Regions from separate parts of the Homo sapiens genome. Here region 1 is linked to region 2. The links are contacts of gene promoters, found by promoter capture Hi-C in human tissues and cell types (Jung and others, 2019). All regions are on one chromosome and are shown on one strand. Each heading gives the region's core, a stretch centred on a gene start or on the middle of the fragment in contact. The rest is flanking DNA. Distances are from core to core; before and after follow the strand shown.

Region 1 (5,426 bases), core at 2,884-5,383, 270 kb before region 2:
TGCTGCTGTTGCTACTACTACCACTTCTTCTTCTTCTTTATTCTTCCTTCCTCCTCCTCCTTCCTCCTTCTCTTTCCTCCTCCTCCTCCTCCTTTTTTCTTCCTTCTTCCTTTTTTTGTTTTTTTGAGACAGTGTCTCACTCTTGCTCAGGCTGGAGTACAATGGCACAATCACAGCTCACTGCAGCCTCAACTTCCGCAGGCCCAGGTGATTCTCCCACCTCATCTTCCTGAGTAACTGGTACTACAGGTGTGCATCACCATGCCTGGCTAATTTTTGTATTTTTTGTAGAGACAGGGTCTCACCATATTGCCCAGGCTGGTCTCAAACTCCTGGGTTCAAGCGATCCACCCACCTCGGCCTCTCAAAGTGCTGGGATTATAGGCATGAGCTACTGTGCCCGGCCATAACTTCTTTTAGTTTAGATTTCTGGTCAGATTTTGAAATATTGTACTTTTTCCTAGGATATTCTGTAGCCTTCTGCTTTCTTCTCATAACAGCTTGGAATGTTGAGGCAGGGAGACACTTGATTTCTTATAAAATTTATGATCCAGGGAAATTCCTTGCTTTTTTTTCCTTTTTCCTGCTTGGTTATTTCATTGTATCTTAAAGATATCAAGAGCAGCTTTAGATGTTGTTTCAGGTGTAAAATTCAGGCCATGTTGTTTGCAGGGTTTAAACTAGTGTCATGTCTTAGCAAATACACCATTTGCTTTGTTCATTTAACTGAATTTAATTGGAAAGCTTTTTCTTCTTCAGAAAAGTGTGATGAAGACCACATGGGGTGTGCTGGATCCTCCTGTGGGGAATACCCGGTTGAATGTCATTAGGTTGATATCCAGCCTGCTTCAAACCAATACCAGCAGTATAAATGGGGACCTTATGGAGCTGAATAGCATTGGAGTCATATTGGTGAGATTTTCCCTGCTCACAGACATTTTAATTTGCCATTGATATTTCATGGATATTTAACCAAGTTACAACCTTACAAATTTACATTATGTCAGTGACTTTTCTTGGTCTGAGCATAAATGGTGTTTTATGTAGTTTTTGCCTTGAGTTTATTATAAATTTCGAATGCTTATAATTGTTCACTAGGCATCTACTGTTGCTTTATATAAAGAATTGTAACATAGGATTTTGAAGATGATTAAGAGACATCGGCTTTTCCCTCGTGCTCCGTCTCGTGGACAATGACTGCTGGGTGCAGCATTGTTTTCTGTTCATATTTAGTGAGGGGACAAACCTTTATCTTCTTGCCACTGGGAGGTATCTGTATAACGTACCTGACGCCATATGGTCTTAATTGATTTGAGTCTGGATTGACTCTTCCTTGAGACACAGTTATTAGCCTGCTTACTGATGGAAGGAGAAGGAAAAGCCCAGGGATGATTTAGGTCTCCCTGACCCCTGAATTCCCCAGTTTCAGAGTCTGTGCTTAGAATCCATAGGCCCAGCTCTGGAGCCCATGCTTCTTCTCTGTGTGCTGCCACCCACAGCACAGAAAGCGCGAGGGTTAACACTTTAGCAGGTTTCACAAGACATCTGGTCACATCATATATTTGGGGGAGATGTGGGGGTGTTTCAAAGGAGGTGTTTGTTCACTGTATGACAGGCATTGTAATGTTCATCTTATGTACACTATTCATGTGATCCTGGGTGATCTCCAGGACCCTCGGGTGAACATTACAGTGAGAGAGAGGATGTGTTTTTCAGATCATGCCCAGAGAGAGGATACATTCCATGGCTAGTGAGCGGTGAAGCCAAGATTTGAATTCACCCAATTTCAAACCCATACGTGCTTTATCAACCACATCATTGTGCTTCCTAGCGTCACCGAGATATTTTTGTTAGGTTTCAGCTTTGGGTTAAATCAGTATAGAGCACAGAAAACAGGAGCAATTTGGAAAAAGAGATGAAGATTTAAAGAATTACAGTTTCTTTGATAGCTAGCATGGTCATTGCCTTCTGGGGACGTAGTTTTTGTCCTACCTTCTAGTGTATAAAACTCCGGGAATATAACGTTCCTAAGTCATTGATCACTGGTCTTTAATTTTACTAATAACAATATACAGTTATTGTTAATTTATTCTGTTAATCTTTAGGACTACTTCTGATGAGACTAAATTTGATGAGACTACTGGAGGAGTTACTCATTACTTCTTCATTTTGAGATTAGATAACCAGACCCAACCATTTCCTAAATATGACATACTAAATTGACTTCCAAAATATGGCATTTTGTACTTTTAGAAATTCTTTCCCTTTTGTAATGCTATTACCTTTTCAAGTAATTTGAAAACCCTTGTACTTCCAGGAGATTCACGTTACTGCCTCTCGTATCCTCATTTGTTTTTGCTGATAGCTCTAGTTTTTGTATGCTGGAGTTGAGTCATGAGCACCTCAAGACTGTGGACCGTATTTTTGTGTATCTCTGTCTGCCATGTTGCATCTCATACAATACCCTGCACAAAAACCATCAGTAAATATTTGTTGCATCAAAATGAAATTCTTACAATTTTTTTTTTTTTTTGAGATGGAGTCTGGCTCAGTCGCCCAGGCTGGAGTGCAGTGATCTTGGCTCACTGCAAGCTCCGCCTCCTGGGTTCACGCCATTCTCCTGCCTCAGCCTCCTGAGTAGCTGGGGCCACAGGCGCCCGCCACCACACCCAGCGATTTTTTTGTATTTTTAGTAGAGACGGGGTTTCACCGTGTTAGGATGGTCTTGATCTCCTGACCTCGTGATCCGCCCGCCTCGGCCTCCCAGAGTGCAGAGATTACAGGCATGAGCCACCACGCCTGGCCTCTTATAAATTTTTTTGAAAATTATAGAAAATTTACCACGCTAACTATTTGTGTTAGTTGCTTTGAAGAGAAAAAAGATACTCCCTTTCTCTTGGAGAAACGTACTCTTGTCTTTGTATGTTTGTTGTTGGTTTTTTACTAGATTCCATACCAGTTCTGGCATGTCAGATAAGCAGATAGCACGCCATTTAGGCTCTAAAGCAATACTTCACATCCCCATTTAGTCCTCGTTATTTATGAGGGATACCTTCCAAGACTCCTTTGGATGCCTGAAACCACAGCTATCGAACCCTATATATACTATGTGTTTTTCCTATACATACCTGTGACAAAGTTTAATTTATAAATTAAGCACAGGAAGAGATTAATAATAACTAATAATAAAGTAGAACAATTATAAATCTATACTGTAATGAATGTTATGTGAATGTCATCTCTTGGATTAGCATGTCTTACTGTATTATACTCACCTATTTTCAGATCATGGTTGACTGTGGGTAACTGAAACCACAGAAAATGAAACTGTGGTTATGCAAGTACTAATGTGAACTCAGGTTCCTTTTAATTGGTCCTTTTGGACTGAGAGCACATCATTTTTACTTTATTAAATCACTGTTCTGTAAATGTATTTAAGTATTGGCTTAAACATTGAGGTAACCGAATAAAACATGGTTTTTCTTTTTTGTAGAACATGTTCTTCAAGTATACATGGAATAACTTTTTGCATACACAAGTGGAAATTTGTATTGCACTGATTCTTGCAAGTCCTTTTGAAAACACAGAAAATGCCACAATTACCGATCAAGACTCCACTGGTGATAATTTGTTATTAAAACATGTAAGCTTATTTGGTCTCGTTTTTCTCCCACTCTCTCCTGGTTATAGCAGTTTTCCACTTGACTGTGATGTGAATTGAGGTTTAAAGGGCTTGAGGTTAGATTTCAGAGTCTAAATATTTGACAATCATGTGTTCGTTTCACTTTTAACATATAAATCATTATATAAATCAAGTACTGGACAAATAACTATTAAATGAACAGTCTTGTAAGAAAAAAGCTAAGTGGCCTCCTTATTTGGTAAAATTAATAGGTTTGAAGATATATAAATTCTTTGATGATTTGAAGAATCATAGAAATTTAAATACTATGGAAAACATTTGCACTATTATTTGGCTGACCAGAGTGTAGTTTCTTTGCTGAATACGTGACTGAAAGTCAGGAGAACTGAGTTCTTTGTGATGTTGAGAGTCTTCCTGGGGTCTCTTTTTCTCTTCTGTCAAATATGAGATAATTTTACTAAGTCAGTCTTCAGATTTTTTCTTGCTTGGTAGTTCTATGGTACTTTTAAAATTTCTAGCCCACACTTGGTTTACTCGCAAACCTAAAATGTAGAAAAGGCTAGCTTGGAACAGCCAAGTTGATGGGAAAGACAAATGACACCTGAGAAGAACTAGCCCTGCACATTCCAGTATTGCAGCCTACAGCAGTTGTCACTGACTTGCAGACTTTGGGCAAAACCCACCTGTTTTTAATATTAATGCAGTAATGTTAGTTCATCTGGAAGTAAGACGTGCTCACATTTTAAAAGTACAAGCATTACTTTGGATTCTAAGTTAAATTTTTGCCAAGGCATAGTTTTCTTTATTCCATTTTAATTTAGCTCAGGTTTTATATTTCTGTTCTGAATTTTCACAGCTAATAAAACCTGGCTTTCCTTTATAGTTAACTATAGGTAGTTAACTGCACTACCTATAATACTGAGTTTCCTGTAGATGTTCTGTGGAGGGTGTGGATCCTGATTTGAATCTCTGTAGTGTTGTGGGTGTCTGCAGTAGATTGATGATCACATTGCATTTGGCTTAGTAACATTTAGCTTGCTAGATTATGCATACTACTATTCTCTTTAACCTAGAGTTCTGTTTCACTTTAAAGTTTTGATGCTTTGAAGTATTAACTGGAATATTCTTTTTTTTTTTTTCAGCTTTTCCAAAAATGTCAATTAATAGAACGAATACTTGAAGCCTGGGAAATGAATGAGAAGAAACAGTAAGTAAATTGTTTTTTTGAAAGGAATTCAGTTTGGTTGGTAATATGAGGAAAATAATACCTCCTTGCCCTAGTCAGAAAAAAATGGAAATAATTACATGATACTGGCCATTTTACAATTTAAACTTTTCCCCAGATTATTTCATTGTAACAGTTGTTTTTATAATACTAATAATTTCTTGTTAGGTCCTCTTGTTTTTGGGGCAAAACAAGTGAGTTCGGAGTGTTCCCCACCTCTGTGCTGCCTTTGAAACTTCCTGGTCCTTTTTGAATGGCTACTGTTCTAAGAGTTATAAGGTTAAAGTTAAGTCCTTGATGATGTGACTTAGTGTATTTGTCCTGGTCACCTTATGCTCAGAACAGAAGGTATCACGTACATATTTTCATTGTAGAGAAGAGTTGCTTTGTACAGGGACCTAGAGGAAAAAAATTGCTCAGTGTTTTCTTTTTAGAAAATGTTTGTTAGCTGATTGGCAAGGTTATGTGAAGTATTAGTTGATACATGTAAGTAGCTTTGTTACACAAAACGTTTTCTTACAGGTGTTGTCTGTAACAGCATTCCTCTCTAGTGCCCTG
Region 2 (5,018 bases), core at 1,302-3,801:
GCCCCGGGCGGCGTCACGTGACGGCTGAGAAAAGTAGGGGAAAGGTCAGCAGCAGCCCCGCCCCCAGGCTGGCGCGTCCCAGGCGCTCGGATCCTGTTCCACCCGCCGTGCCCACAGAGACCTTCCGGAGCGAGTTGGCGCGCGTCCCTGTGGCCACCCCAGCGACAGCGGGAGAAATGCAACGCACCTCTCCGTGGGAAGGTCGAGCCCTGCGGTGCCCAGCTGTGGGGACAGCTCGGTGCTCAGTGCTTCTGATGACAGATGCTGCATCCAACGAGCCAGAAACGCAGGCACCGCGCTCAAGAGCCCAGGGCGCGTCTAAAAGGGGCTCACTGTGAAGCCTCAGTGAAAACTGACGGTGTTTTTATGAATGAGCACTCGGGGCCAGGGTTGGGTAAGGGCAGGCCCTCGTTCCAGGGCTCCCCGGAGGCCCAACTTGACCGCTCGGTGACCACTGGTCCGGGGCCGGGGCCAAACGCAGCAGCCGCAGCAGTATCGGAAGGGACCCAGTTTAATTCTCTTCCCCTCCAGGGTAGGCGGCTTGTTTTTAGTACCAACTCGAAACGTTATTTTGGCCTGTGCATGATGCCAACTTCTGCCACTTTGAAACAAAGTGTGTGCACTCCCAAACCTGGCCCTTTTTATTGTTTGATTCCAACTGTTAAGATAGGGTTCAAGTGCAAGGTCTAGGCTAGCAATGCTTCACAGGAAGGAAACCAGTAATTTACATGCGAAAAGCAGTCCACAGGCTCTTGGTATTGAGGCAAAACCAATCCAAAGAACCAGCTGCGAATGCTGATAGTCCCCAGACCAACTGACAGCTGGATGTTCGCTGGCCTCAGCGGTGTGCATTCTCAGCGACACTTATGTCCTCAATTTATTGCTACGTTCACTCGGTCAGAGTCGCCTTAAAGAATTTGGAAAGGCCCGGGGGTGGGGGTGCTTCCTGGCATAAATAGAAGACCAGTGCTCAGCCATTTTTTATTCACTTGGTTTGTGGCTTAGAATGAAATAAACATGCTTGCATATCTGGAATGACCAGAAACCGGACACCTGTGGAAGAAAATGGTGTAACAAAATACAACGTTGCAAAAGGTAAAACCGATTTTCATTTTATTCGGTAACTTACAAAGTTACCAGCTTCCTACTAAAATCTGCCCTTAAATATTTTATAACACACGGAGCCGAGAGGAACCGAAAGCCTGTGCCGAGTTGGGAATATTAACTTTGTTATGTATTTAACCTGGTAGGTAGTTGGGATTTTTAACTCTCTGAGTTGTTTTCTTTTTTTAAAGTAAGATCGGCCCTCATCTTTGAGTTCTGCGGCTTTAACGAAAGCCAAGGGCGGATTTACATTATAAAGACGCTGACCCATGGCCTCTCCTGACAAACCGAAAGAAGCCGGCTGTTGGCTGGCCGCGGCGGTGGCTCCGAGAAGGGGCTGCCCCGCGTGGCCCTGACCGCACCGTCGGGCTCGCAGGCCAAGTTCGCCAGGGCACGGCCACGTGACACCCCCACCCTCCCGCGGCCCCGCCGCTCCCAGCCCGGCACGACCTTGGGCACATGCTCCGCGCCCACCCGCCCTTGACCCAGCGCTGCACGGGAGAGGCTGCGGGGCGCTCCCAAGCAGGCACTGGGCCCGGCACCCTCATCCTGCTCACGGCAGCGCTCGGACCGCGCCTGGAGTCCCTGCGCCAAGGGCGTGTCCCGACGGCTGCACCGCGAGGGCGGGCATGGGGAGGGGGACCGGGGAGACGGACGCTGGGATGGGGTCAGCGGCGCCCTGCCGAATCCCGAGGGCCGAGCACCCCTCCCTCAGCCGCACTGCACCTGCCCGTAGGTGACCAACCCACGGGCGGACCCCCAGACCCAATCCTCTCCAGAGCCAGGGTGGGATGGGCAGGGACAGGAGCCGGAGGCCCTACTGGCCCCGGGCGAAGGCATCCTGGAAAGCATCCAGAGCGTCCAGCATCCCTCCCGCGGCCACCCGCAGGCTGACCGACCCCTGGGCAGACCCTCAGACTCAATCCAGTCCAGGGCGGATTAAGGAGTGGGAGACAAGGGAGCCGGTGGCCCCGCTGGCCCCGGGCCGGAGGCGTCCAGCCAAGTCCGGAGGGCCGAGCATCCCTCCCGCGGCCGCACGGGACCCGCCTGCGGATGGACCGACCCCCGGTGGACCCTCAGACCCAATCCCCTGGGGAACATGGGGAGCCCCGGCCTCTTTCTGGGTTCAGGATCTCCACAACCCCGCCGTCCGGGGGGAATACCGGGGTTCCTCTCGGCGCCCCGGTTCCGGCGGCGTCCCCCACCCGGTCCGGTTCCCGGCAGCCCCGCGCCCCGCCCGTCCCCGGCCCCCGCAGCCCGCAGGGCCGCCCCGCCACCCTCCCCACCGCGGGCGACCGGGCCTCACCGAGTCAGCTACGGAGGTGCGGCAGCGGCAGCGGCAGCGGCGGCGGCGGCGGCGGCGGTGGAGTGAACGAGCGGCGAGCGGGAGCCGGGGAAGGAGGGCCGCGGGCGAGGCCGAGCGCACCCGACGCCGGCAGCAGCGGATTGGCTGAGGCGGGTCCGGCTGCGGCGCCTGCAGGCGGGTGACTCCCGGCGCGCGGAGGGCGGGCCCGGGGCCTCGGCGGGGCGGGGCGTCCGCGGGGCTAGGAGGGGAGGGAAACTGAGGCTCGAGCGGGTGCTCGCGTCCTCGACCTCTGCCGGAATGGGGTCTAGGACGAGATTCCTCACCCTCCGAGCCTCAGTTTCCTCATCCGTAAAACGAGCCATCTCGTGGAGGCCGTGCGCATAAAATCGCTTAGCTCCGTGCCTGGCTGATCCTCGCGACTTATCTATCGGCATTGCCCCGTGTAATGCTCCAGGCACCCCCTGATGGTATTCACCCCTGACTCTTTCATGCAGACAAGGGTCGCGGGCCAGGAAATAAGTTACCCCACATCACCGAGCTGAGAAGCAACCGATCCACAGGGAGTGGTGGGGCGCGCCTGTAATCCCAGCTACTCGGGAGGCGGGAAGTCGCTTGAAGCCAGGAGTTCGAGGCCAGCCTGGGCAACGTAGCGAGACCCCGTCTCTAAAAAAAAAAGCGCGGGGAAGTGATAGATCGGACATTGGGTCCAGATCTGATTCCACAGCCCATGCCCCAAATCAGACCTTATACCACGAGTGGCAGTCATCGCGATCCAGAGGCAGCGTGGCTCCTCCTCATCTAGCTAGGATAAAAATGCCTCACTTGGGGGGCTTTGGTGAGATTTACTAAAATAATTCTTCCAGCGTCAAGAACATAATAGGTGCTGGGAGAGGAGTAGCTGGAGGCCAGGGCAGAGCGACCGAGAGACCCTTGTGCTGGAGCTCGGGAGAGGGGCCGGGAGCGGGAACTGAACATCCACCGGTCCCAGGAGTCTAGGGCGAGCGCAGCTGCAGGGGACCCAGGGGGTTGAGGGGGAGGGAGAGGGGCCCCAAGCGTAACAGGAGGGCCAAGGGGGTCTTCCTGACCGGGAGCCACCCCTCCCCTATCTTTGCCCGCAATGCTTCCAGGCGCGAGCTGGCGGCTCTGCATACAGCAGGTGCTCCATAAATGCACCGATGTTATGAACAAAGACTCTTTTAAACCTCTTTTATGAACCCTGCTCTTTTTAAGTTCGACCACTTCTTCTAGTTATGAAAAAATCCATGTTTGCAACCATCCTTCTTTCTGTATCATTTAGTTGTTACCGCAGAAGAATTTAGAAGAGAAAATGAAAGTTCTCCTTTGATCCCGCCCCCCACCACCGCTGCAGTTAACTCTCCCTGCGGTTCCCGGGCTCGCTGTTTTAAAGGAAGGCTAGGATGCAAGCTGTCTGTAAGGCTGTTTTGTTTTCACTTGGCTTACGTCGTAGACAGGTCTCTGCTGGGGGACGGAGATGACCACCGGCCTTCCCAAGGCTGCATAAGATTTCCTTTGACTATGCTGTGATCCATTTACGCGGCCCCCATTGGACAATTAGGGCCTCCTCCCCGCCCCCCACCCCACCATTGCAGGTATAAATAAAAGCTGCGTTGGCCGTCGATGTACCTCCTGGAGCTCCTGATTATCCTGTAGGATAGATCCCTGGAGGGGAAGCAACCAGGCACGTGCGACATTTTGGTGACACAGGCCAAGCTACCATGCCGAAAAGTTTACCAACTTCCACTGCCACCCGCGCGTGCAAGCGGGGCCCTGTCTCCGATTATGGATTATTTTAATCTTTGCCAATCCTAAAAGGAGGGGTGGGGGAGGGAAGAATCTCTCATCTCTCCTTTTAATTTGCATTTCTTTGAGGTTAGAAGTTGGGGGTTTGTCCCCCTGCTTGCGCTTGTCTGGACCACCAGTGAGCCCAGGCACTCGACCCCCGCAGATTTCACCGCCCCAAGAGGCCAGTGGGCTGGGCCAGGGCACACGTTCCTGACGCGCGGCTGCACCCCACGAGCCCGGGCGGCTCTCGCGCGTGAGGCTCTCCTTGCACGTGGGCCTTCGCGGTTTGCACTACGGAAGCTGGACTGTCATTCTCACCGCAAATGCCCTTCCCTCCTTTCCCTGGAACCTCAGCCACCGACAGGTCCCCGCTCCAAGGTCATTTCCTCCCTCGCTCAGCGCCCCGGTGCGCGCCCAGCTGGGATTGGCCCCGCGCCCTGTCTGTTCCCAGGGCTCTTCGGCCTTGACCGTGCGCCCTTCCCTGCGCGCCGCCTAGGTGCCACCTGCAGGCCGGGCGGGGCAGGGACAGGGACCCAGTCTGTGGGGACGCCGAGGCGCCACGCTCACCTGTGCCATGGTGGCCGGGCTCTCGGCAGCTGCAACGAGCCCGCGCCGGCCTGCAACTGCAGCCGCACTGGGGAGGCCTTATTCCCCTCCCGCCGACCACGCTGCAGCTCTCCTGCCCGGGTCTGCGGCTCCCGCGGCTGCGTAGCTGAGTCTATTAATAAAGAAGCAGAGAACGAGGCCTCCCGGGGAGCTCCGGGCCTGAGCCTCAGTTCCCTGGGGCCAAAAACGTCTCCATGTC

Evidence for each region. Contacts are between HindIII fragments. The study calls those that stand out against the background at their distance.
Region 1: a contact is called between a fragment that was not itself captured here and the fragment with the promoter of CPT1A in region 2, in 1 of the 25 tissues and cell types used here (H1 embryonic stem cells).

Annotation. Positions count from the first base shown.
Region 1 is chr11:68,566,255-68,571,680 of GRCh38, forward strand. PPP6R3 (protein phosphatase 6 regulatory subunit 3) reads left to right here. Exons shown (of 24, transcript NM_001164161.2): 10 at 760-912; 11 at 3,494-3,643; 12 at 4,786-4,850. Among named protein-coding and RNA genes, the nearest start is that of PPP6R3, 110 kb to the left of the region's middle. The HindIII fragment of the contact is 3,874 bases long and covers 2,197-5,426 here.
Region 2 is chr11:68,839,365-68,844,382 of GRCh38, forward strand. It overlaps CPT1A (carnitine palmitoyltransferase 1A), which reads right to left and starts at 2,552. Exons shown (of 19, transcript NM_001876.4): 1 at 2,411-2,552. RefSeq lists enhancers at 578-737, 2,946-3,471, 4,194-4,333, 4,374-4,583 and silencers at 1,391-1,670, 1,721-1,820, 2,081-2,160, 2,371-2,420, 2,441-2,800. The HindIII fragment of the contact is 31,646 bases long and covers 1-5,018 here.